Linked DNA regions of Homo sapiens: regions 2 and 3 are each linked to region 1. Evidence: promoter capture Hi-C in 16 types of primary human blood cells and fetal thymus (Javierre and others, 2016). All regions are on one chromosome and are shown on one strand. The core of a region is centred on a gene start or on the middle of the fragment in contact, and the rest is flanking DNA. Distances in the headings are between cores, read along the strand shown. Region 1 holds the start of PLAG1 (PLAG1 zinc finger). Region 2 has its middle 71 kb from the start of PCMTD1-DT. Region 3 has its middle 6.2 kb from the start of RB1CC1.

Region 1 (3,489 bases), core at 326-2,825:
GGGGGAAACCAAGCAACTCCACATCCCTCCCCAAAAGGTACTCCAGCCTTGCACTCCAGCCTCTCTGAGCACCATCACCTCTCTATCCCTCCTCTGCAGAGCCCAGTTTAAAGAAAGGAGGGAGCCACTAACAAAACCTGAAGCATAAATGCGACGAAAATGCAATCTAAAGCCGGAAAGGTTCATTCTTCCAATCACACATATTAACTCTATTAAGAAAATGGCATCACTTTTTTTTCCACCCAAAAAAACCCCGCAAAGATCATTAAAAGAGAGTTATAAAATAGCAAATATAGTGTTTATCTTATCTGAGATCAGTCCACATTACCAATAAGTTTAGCAGTTTCTGCACTACCACCTCCCCCCTCGCTCCCCCTGCTTCTCTTGCATCGGATTTTCACGTTTTCTCATTGTCGGTTGAGTTATAAAAGGCTTTTGCCCTTCGAAAGTTTTAAAAAATAAATAAATATTAACTCCTTGGTCCCTGCAAAGTCAAAATGGACTTCAGGGGAAAGGCGGTACATACTTTTACCTTTAGCGAGAAAAGGGGGAGCATCCCGGATTTTTAGGGATTTTTTGCGATTTTTTAAAAATTTTTATTTGGTTATATGCCTGAGTTCTCCCTCCATTTTGGTTGTTTATGATACTGACAACAAGCTGTCCCTGCTCTGTGCCGATCTCCTGCTTTCATTTAGCACCCCCTCCCCCTACCCCCCCTCGCAGCCACACACCCCGGGCTCACACCTCCCTGCAGACCCCGCACCCCGACCCCGGCTTGCCCACCTGAGGAAAGGGCAAAAACAAATTCATTTCTCCAGAAAAGAAAAACCTCTTTTGAAAAAGGGGCAAAGTTACCCCAAGTCACTCAAAGTGCCCCCCAAATATTGCCGACTGCGGGTTTCCGCCAGGCCCTTTGGGAAGCGACCTTCCCCCGGGATGTTTTGGTGGAAAATGCGGAGAGTTTACTCTCAAAACTGAATTTATATTAATTTTTCCCTTATTTTTCGGGTCTCTAATGTCTTCCGCTCTCGCTGCTGCCGCTGCCGCTGTCACAATATTCACAGCACCAGAGAGGAGGAGGAGGAGGAGGAGGAGGAAAACTTTTCAAACTTTCCAGACCCTGAATAAAGGTTTTTTTTTTTTTCCCACCGACCTCACCTTCGGGTCCCCAGCCGCATCGCCCCCTGCCCTGTCAGAAGCGACTTCGGGAGTCCTCGCAGCCCCGCGTAATTATTTTATTTTATTTTTTATTATTATTTTTCTCTCTGGGGTCCTGAGCAGGGGCTGAGAGTAGCACAAACTTTTCCTCCTCCTGCCGCCGCCGCTGCTCCTCTGCCCCCTCGGCTAGTCCCATAATTTAAATAACCCTGATATTTCTCCCGCTAAACGCCTCGCCGCCGCCCCGGACCCCCGGAGAACTCACCGCGGGGCTTTAACATCCTCCCTCCGGCCCGTCCGCCGCCTCTACACCGCCCGCGGAATTTCTAATAATTTTTTTCTCATATTTCGGGCTGGACGCGGCGGGCCTGGAAATTGTTTCCTTACGCCTCTTTCCAGCAGCCATTGTAGTGTATGCGCTGCCCCTGCAGCCCAACTTGCAGCTGCCGCCGCCGCCGCCGCCGCCGCCGCCGACGTCGCGCCCACCGCTGCCTCCCCCTGCCTGTTCGGCCACCGCCCCCGCCTCCCGTCGGCCCGCCCCCAAACCCCGCCCGCCGCTGCGCCCGCCCCCCGCGCGCGCTCCGCCCGAGAGCTGGCCACTCGGAGCCGCCGCTGGCGGGAGTTGGCCCGCCCATTGGGCCGCGACGCCGCCCGTCAAGCCGAAGTGTTAAGAGACGGGCCGCGGCTGGGGGGCGCGGTGGGGCGGGGGAAGAGGGGGCGGGGTCGCGCTCACCGCCCCGCCCACTCCTCCCGCCTCGGCCCTCCTTTCGCCAGGCGGGGGCGGGGCGAGGCCCGACCGCCCCTGCGGCCCAGGGCCCCGCGCGGCTGTCAGTCTGGCGGCGGCGCGCGCCGATTGGGCGGGCTGCCGCCGGGGAGCGGGGGCAGCAAGTTGGGATGCGCGCTACTTAAGGTCCTGCTGCGTGAGCCATTGACGTGTTTGGAGCTGGAGACGGCCTGGGTGCTGGCGAAGCGGAGGCCGGAGGTGAGTGGTTCCCCCGCCCTACCTCCGAAGCGGCCGCAGAAAAGCGGGGAGAGAGGGGTGCCCTTGGGCCGTAGCGGGGCCCGAATGCACTTCTGCGGCGCGGAGGCGCTCCCGCCAGGCTTCGCCGCAGCGCGGACCTCTTCCCGTTGCTCTTCCTCCCGCCACACGGGTCTGTTCGCTCCGGGGGCGAGGAAGATGACCTCTGCCTAGTCCGGGCAACCCCAGCTCTTCTTCCACTCTCCTGTGTAGCCTCTGAAGCGCAGTTACCGGCCCCACCCCCAGTTCCCTGCGTTTTCCTCGCCCCTTGTCTCTCTCGGCATGGTCTCGGCACAGCAAGGTGTGTTCACCTGTGCGCGCCGTCCAGGATCAGATGCTGACGGGCTACACCGCGGAAGGCGGCGAGGCCTCGGGTTCGCCCTTCGTTTCTCCTTGCCCTGCGCGCCCACCTCCGGCAGGCCACCCTTGACTTCTTGCCCCCTTCCACTTTGCACCTGGCAGTGGGTTAACGGCACGGCGTGTGCAGCTTCCGGGTTTAGCAGAGCCGCGGACCCTGCCTGGGCTCCGACCACGGGGCGTGTGGGCATGAACGTGTTCAGAAACGTTTCCTTCCCCCTGCCCTTTCAAAGCTACTTAGAGAGGGGGGACGTGAACCACTGGATGGGAAATCAGGAACTGCTTTATTAAGCAGTTTGCCCTTTGGAGTGGATTTTAGAGTTATCCCCTGAATGTGCTATGGTTTTGTGGCCCCTCCTTCATATCTTTGCTTGGTTTTTCTTTCTGGTTATGCTCTGCAAGTAGTAGAGCCTTGTAACATTTATTTAGTACATTCAAAAAGTAATAGACAAGGCCCCTTTAGCGGAGCACTCGATGTTGTAATTCAGCCCCGCTCCTCACTGTAAATTGACATTTCCTCTTCAATTCCAGTTAATACACGAGGAACTCATGCAAAGGAGGGGACTTTCGGAAATCCAAACTTAGAGTGCCTTGTATTTAGAATCCGGAAGGAAAAGGAAATGAAATGTGAAGAAACTCATGCACCAAACTCGAACTGGGTATATGTGATGTTACCTAGGTATTATTTTTGAAGAATTTCTGACTGACAATAAAATATAGAGTAGGATACTTTCATGTAAGGCACGAAACTTAAATTTAATGCAAGGTTGTCTGATCCTTGTTGAGATTATTAAATCTAAGGTGTATGAAGAGTTCTGTGTTCTCACATCATAGGATAGGTGTAAAAAAGAAAGCTGTGAATTTATTTACTATCATCATCTCTCTTAGGAAGAAGGGAAGTGTGGAAAAAAATTGTCTTCAGGAGAGGAAGAAGCTTGTAGATATAATTGAACAGC
Region 2 (3,489 bases), core at 316-2,815, 4.2 Mb before region 1:
TGCAGTGGCACAATCTTGGTTCAGTGTAACCTCTGCCTCCTGGGCTCAAGTGATCCTTCCAAGTAACTGGGACTACAGCTAATTTTTTTTTGTAGTTTTTGTAGAGATGGAGTCTCACTATGTTGCCCAGGCTGGTCTTTAATTTCTGGGCTCAAGTGGTCCACCTGTTTCAGCCTCCCAAAGTGTTGGGATTACAGGAGTGATCCAGCGTGCCCAGCTCAAAGAACCCTTAAGCTTGACCATAAAGAAGGAAACAACTCAATTTAAAAATAGGCAAAAAAAAAATCTGAACAGAAAACCTCATCAAAGAATGTACACAGATGGCAAATAAGCATAGAAAACAATACTCAACATCATATGCCGTTAGAGAATTGCAAATTAAAACAATAGTGACATTATGACACACATACTAAAATTGCTAAAATCCAAACATCTGACCATACCAAGTACTGCAAGAATGTGGAGCAACAGGAACTCTCGTTCTTCACTAGTGGGAATGCAAAATGGTACAGCCACCTTGGCAGACAGTTTGGTAGTTTCTTACAAAGCAAAACGTAATCTAACCATGGAATTCAACAATTATGTTCCTATTTCCCCAAATGAGTTTAAAACTTATGTTCATAATTTACTCCCCCCTCCATGGCATTTTTTTAAAAAATTTTTGATTCAGGGGGTATATATGTGGATTTTTATATGGATATATTGTGTAATGCTGAGGTTTGGGCTTCTACTGAACCTGTCACCCAAATCATGAACACAATACCCAATAGGTAGTTTTTCAACCCTTGTTCCCCTCTCCTTCCTCCTCATTGGAGTCCTCAGTGTCTACTGTTTACAGCTTTATGTCTACTCACACAACTTGTACACAAATGTTTATATTCATAATTGCAAAATACTGGAATCAAACAATATATCCTTCATTAGGTAAATGGATAAACAAAGTATGGTACATCCATATAATGGCATATTACTCAATAATAAAAAGAAAATGAGCCATTAAGCCAAGAAAAGACATGGAAGAACTTTAAACCCATATTACTCAGTGAAAGAAGCCAGTGTGAGAAGACTGTATACTGTATGGCCCCAACCATGTAACATTCTGGGAAAGGCAAAAGTATGGAAACAGTAAAAAGATCAGGTGGGCGCAGGCAGCCTCAGTCTGGTTGACTTTGCAGAGCTATGGAGGGCAGCTTCTGCTTGGATTTCAGGGGTTCAAGCAGCAGAAGGCTTGACCCAGGGCTCGTTGTGGAGCAAGTGAAGGTGCAGATTGCATGGCACCTGCAGAAAGGTGCTTCTGGAAGCACATTGGGAAGGTGGGTTGGGGCCTCCCAGGACAATTTCAAGCAGAAGTGCATCCTCATGTGAATAGACTGCTACATGGACACCTGGAACACCGTGTCTTGTGCCCACAACTCCTGGCTTCAGCGAGAACAAGCCAACATGTGATCAGGAGACATGACACTAGCCGGAGGGCCACCCTCCGGCCGCCCCACACCATTTCTATTTCCATGTATGTGCATTATGAGGTGGGGGCCAACATGTGTGCACTGACTGCCCATTGCTTATGGGGATGGCACCGTGCCTGGACAGATGGGACTGTGTTGCTCCTGGCCCCCACCCTGCCCCCTGTCCCTTACCCCCTGCCAGTGAGTGTGGCTTGGGTCTGGTTCCTTCCTAAAGTGCTGGCAGCCCAGTGGCACCTCCTTCAGGCCTGAGGGTAGGTGGTTCCTCCCCTGGTGTGCCCAGGTCATCTTCGTGTCCTGGGCAGAGAACCCTTGTTTTATTTTATTATTATCATTTATTTCAATTTCAAGGAGAAGTGCATCCTCATGTGAACAGACTGCTACATGGACACCTGGAACACCGTGTCCTGTGCCCCCCTGTATTTTGGAGTACAAGTGGCTTTTGGTCACATGGATGAATTATATAGTGCTAAATTCTGAGGCTTTAGTGCACTGTCACTGGAATAGAGTACAATGTACCCAATATGTAGTTTTTTATCTTGCATCCTTCCTTCCCCCTTCCACTTCTGAGTCTACAAAGTTTATTATATCACTCTGTATGCCTTTGCATATTCATAGCTCAGTTCCCACTTGTAAGTGAGAACATACGGTGTTTGGTTTTCCATTCCTGAGTTTCTTCACTTAGAATAGTGACTTTCAGCTCCATCCAAGTTGCTGCAAAAGACATTATTTCATTCCTTTTTATGGCTGAGTGGTATTCCATGGTGCATATATACCATATTTTCTTTATTCACTCATTGGTTGATGAGCACTTAGGTTGGTTTCATATCTTTGCAATTGTGAATTGGGCTGCAAGAAACATATATGTGCCTGTATCTTTTTCATATAATGACTTCTTTTCCTTTGTGTAGAGACCCAAAGGTGGCATTGCTGGATCAAATGGTTGAACTACATTTAGTTCTTTAAGGAATCTCCATACTGTTTCCATAAAGTTGTACTAATTACATTCCTACAAGCAGTGTATAAACGATCACTTTACACCACATCCACACCAACATCTATTGTTTTTTGACTTTTTACTAATGGCCATTCTCCCAGGGGTAAGCTGGCATCTAATTGTGGTTTTACTTTACATTTCCCTGATGATTAGTGATGTTGAGCATTTTTTTCAGATGTTTTTTGGCCATTTGTATATCTTCTTCTTCTTTTTTACATTGCCACCGTAGAGGCACTGATTGTGTATCTTTTGAGAAATGTTTGTTCATGTTATTTCCCTTTTTTTTGATGGGATTATTTGCCTTTTTTCTTGCCGACTTGTTTGAGTTCCTTGTAGCTTCTGGATACTAGTTCTTTGTCAGATGCATAGTTTGCAAATATTTTCTCCCATCCTATGGTTTGTCTGTTTACTCTGATGATTATTTATTTTGTTGTGCAGAAGCTTTTTAATTTAATCATATCCTATTTATTTATTTTTGTTTTTGTTGCATTTGCTTTTGGGGTGTTAAGTCATGAATTCTTTGCCTATGCTGATGTCTTTATGAGTTTTTCCAATGTTATCTTCTACAATTTTTATGGTTTTGGGACTTCGATTTCAGTCTTTGATCCACTTTGAGTTGATTTTTGTAAGTGAGAGATGAGGATCCAGTTTTGTTCTTCTACATATGACTTGCCAGTTATCCCAGCACCATTTATTAAATACCCAATTTATGTTTCTGCATGCTTTGTTAAAGATCAGTTGGTTGTAAGTATTTGGCTTTATTTCTGGGTTCTCTATTCTGTTCCATTGGTCTATGTGCCTATTTGTATACCAGTACCATGCTGTTTTGGTCACTATAGCCTTGTAGTATAACTTGAAGTCTGGTAATGTGATGCCTCAAGATTTGTTCTTTTTTGCTTATGATTGCTTTGGCTATTTGGTCACTTTTTTGGTTCCATATGAAATTTAGGATTGTTTGTTTTTTCTAATTCTGTGAAAAACAGTGTTGTCATTTTTTATGGGAATTGCATTGAATCTCTAGGTTGCTTT
Region 3 (3,489 bases), core at 374-2,873, 3.5 Mb before region 1:
CCACTGCACTCCAGCCTGGGAGACAGAATGAGACTCCATCTCAAAAAAGAAGAATAATAATAATTGCAGGCTGGGTGCAGTGGCTCACGCCTCATGCCTGTAATCCCAACACTTTGGGAGGCTGAGGCGGGTGGATCACCTGAGGTCAGGAGTTCGAGACCAGCCTGACCAACATGGAGAAACCCCGTCTCTACTAAAAATACAACATTAGCCAGTGGCGCATGCCTGTAATCCCAGATACTCAGTAGGCTGAGACAGGAGAATCACTTGAACCCAGGAGGCGGAGGTCGCAGTGAGCCGAGATCGCACCATTGCATTCCAGCCTGGGCAACAAGAGCGAAACTCCGTCTCAAAAAAAGAAAAAAAAAATAAATATAATTGCAGTAACAAATTTATATGATATTAATTCTTTACCAAAGTACATTCAGTTTATTGGGAAGATCATGGTAAACATCTTAATTTTGTCAACTCTGCCTGAGGCATTCAGCACATGTATTAAATATTTCTCAAACAACTTAGTGTCATTACCCTAATTTTCTTTTAGGCAATGTTCAAACAACCAGCAACCACAATTCACATAATTTGGCTTTATTCAAAGTATGAGGCACAATTATTGTTCATTTTTAAAAGGGTTAAAAAGATGTACGTTTTGGACTTTGTTTTTAAAACCATAACTAATTTGGTGTATATGATTATGTACTATTTAGAGGCTGCTGGCACTATGATGATTAAGTTAATGTTTTCAGTACTGCTTATAGACCTGAAAGCTGCCCTTCTCAGCTGGTTTGTGGGTACTCAAACATACTAATAATGATGATGGCTAACTTAGGAATGACCATCTTCAAAGCTAGTGATGACTTGATGAGCTCATAAGCAACACTGTTTCCAATGCTGCAGCAACATAGTCAAGAAAACACTTCTAGAATGCTTAATTTCCTGAAAGATTTAAACCAATAGATTAAGACAAAACATTTGTAGTCATTTTTCAGATTGAAAGAGATATCTTTTTGCATCATGTTTTATTAGGTTCTTGTCTTTCATTATTTTGAAGAGCTGCCTAGCAAAGTGTCCAAAAATAGAGCTGGCACTGTTTATAAAATGCCTTAAGGCAGAAGTTAATCAGTCATGTAGACACAGATACAGAACTGATTCAAATGTCAAGTGGTAGTTGGACTTCAGGTGGTGACTTTCTAACTTTTACTGTGATCCACATTAAGAAATACAGTTTCACATTGTGACCTGGTATACATACACAGGAAAAAGTACTTGCTGCTTGTGATATACTCTGATACCTTCTATTGTTTTTTTTTCCTCTTGCTAGTCTTACACATTACATCGATTTTACTATCATCCAATGGTTTCAGAGATATTAGATTCAATGACTTAGGCCCCAAACCTTGAGATTCTTTGTTCCTGATTTTTCTGTCAGTGCCTTCCTATTTCTGTCAGTGCCTCAGTAGTGTTTATAAATAAATGCTTCTTTTTTTTTTTTTTTGAGATGGGAGTTTCACTCTCGTTGCGGAGGCTGGAGTGCAATGGCGCAATCTCAGCTCACTGCAACCTCTGCCTCCCGGGTTCAAGTGATTTTCCTGCCTCAGCCTCCCGAGTAGCTGGGATTACAGGCATGCACCACCACACCTGGCTAATTTTGTATTTTTAGTAGAGACGGGGTTTCTCCATGTTGGTCAGGCTGGTCTCGAACTCCTGACCTCAGGTGATCTGCCCTCCTTGGCCTCCCAAAGTGCTGGGATTACAGGCGTGAGCCACCGCGGCTGGTCAATAAATGTATTTTTTAAAAAGCATGACCTAACGGAGCTCATGAAACACTTATGGGTGTATCTTAGATGCCAGACATGGGTTTTAAATTTATCAACCTGTTTAGTTGTCTTAGCAGCCCTATGCAGTTTCTGTAAATTTTCTTTGATTTTACAGATGGGGCAATAAGGCATGGAGTGGTTAAGTTGCTAATTCAATGTACTTCCTTCTAGTTAGTGTTCTTAAATTAGTAACTGTCAAGGCCAGGATTTGAACCCAGGTAATCCAATTGTACGGGCTATATCCTATATATCCTATGCATAGCCTATGCTCCCCCTTAATTTGGTGCTGGTCCTGCAGGGGTTAAAAAAAATTGGCTCAGCAAGGTGGCTCCCAGCTTACACCAGTAATCCCAGCACTTGGGGAGGCCAAGGCAGGTGGATAGCCCTGAGTTCAGAAGTTCTAGACCTGCCTGGACAATGTGGCAAAACCCCATCTCTACCAAGAATACAAAAAAAAAAAAAAATTAGCCAGGCATGTGGTGGCATACGCCTGTAGTTCCAGCCACTTGGGAAGCTGAGGTGGGAAGATTGCTTGAGCCTGGGAGGCAGAGGTTGCAGTGAGCTAAGATTGCACTGCTGCATTCCAGCCTGGGCAACAGGGTGAGACCCTGTCTCAAAAACAAAAAAAGAAAAAATGTCTAGCAATAGGTTACAGAGTTTCTCAATCTCATACCTACCAGTTAATTCTTTGTTATAAGGGGCTGTCCTGTACATTTTAGGATGTTGAACCTCCTTGGCTTCTGCCCACTAGATGCCAGTAGCACCCCAGTTATGACAATCAAAAATGCCTCTGGACATTTTGTAATGTTCCCAGAGGGACAAAATCAACCCCTTTCTCAGAATTCAGGGAAAACGTGGTACATCTATATAATGAAATACTATGCAGCCATTAATATTATATTTTAGAAGAATATTTAAAACAGGCCTGGCATGGTGGCTCACACCTGTAATCTCAGCACTCTGGTAGGCTGAGGTAGGAGAATCACTTGAGGCCAGGAGTTTGAGACCAGCTTGGACAACATAGCGAAACCCTGTCTCTACAAAAATAAAAGTAAAAATATAGACCAGGCGCGGTGGCTCACGCCTGTAATCCCAGCACTTTGGGAGGCCGAGGCGGGTGGATCACGAGGTCAGGAGATCGAGACCATCCTGGCTAACATGGTGAAACCCTGTCTCTACTAAAAGTACAAAAATAAGTTAGCCGGGCGTGCTCGGGAGGCTGAGGCAGGAGGATGGCGTGAACCTAGGAGGCGGAGCTTGCAGTGAGCCGAGATCGCACCACTGCACTCCAGCCTGGGCGACAGAGAGAATAAAAAAAATAAAAATAAAAATAAAATAAAAATATAGCTCTGTGTGGTGGTGCACTCCTCTAGTCTCAGCTACTTGGGAGGCTGAGGTGGGAGGATTGCTCGAGCCAAGGAGTTTAAAGCTACAGTGAACCATGACCACACCACTGTACTCCATCCTGGGCAACAAAGTGAGACCCTATTCTAAAAAAATTGTAAAAATATGTATATTAATTTTTTTTTTGTTTTGAGATAGGGTCTCACTCTCTCACCCAGGCTGTAATGCATTGGCACACCCACGGCTTGTTGCAGCCTCAACCTCCCAGGCTCAAGCAATCCTTCCACCTCACTGTCCCTAATAGCTGTAACTACAGATGCCCACCACC

Evidence for each region. Contacts are between HindIII fragments. The CHiCAGO score rates a contact against its expected background, and 5 or more counts as called.
Region 2: a fragment that was not itself captured here is called in contact with the fragment with the promoter of PLAG1 in region 1 in 1 of 17 cell types (activated CD4 T cells); the score reaches 5.4 in activated CD4 T cells.
Region 3: a contact is called between a fragment that was not itself captured here and the fragment with the promoter of PLAG1 in region 1, in 4 of 17 cell types (total CD4 T cells, naive CD8 T cells, naive CD4 T cells and 1 more). The highest score is 10.0, in total CD4 T cells.

Annotation. Positions count from the first base shown.
Region 1 is chr8:56,209,698-56,213,186 of GRCh38, forward strand. It overlaps PLAG1 (PLAG1 zinc finger), which reads right to left and starts at 1,576. Exons shown (of 5, transcript NM_002655.3): 1 at 1,424-1,576. It overlaps CHCHD7 (coiled-coil-helix-coiled-coil-helix domain containing 7), which reads left to right and starts at 2,092. Exons shown (of 4, transcript NM_001011671.3): 1 at 2,092-2,140. RefSeq lists silencers at 1,561-2,120, 1,963-2,188 and an enhancer at 2,201-2,270. The HindIII fragment of the contact is 9,849 bases long and covers 1-3,465 here.
Region 2 is chr8:51,968,750-51,972,238 of GRCh38, forward strand. No RefSeq gene overlaps it. Among named protein-coding and RNA genes, the nearest start is that of PCMTD1-DT, 71 kb to the left of the region's middle. The HindIII fragment of the contact is 2,667 bases long and covers 233-2,899 here.
Region 3 is chr8:52,718,852-52,722,340 of GRCh38, forward strand. No RefSeq gene overlaps it. Among named protein-coding and RNA genes, the nearest start is that of RB1CC1, 6.2 kb to the left of the region's middle. The HindIII fragment of the contact is 4,259 bases long and covers 1-3,489 here.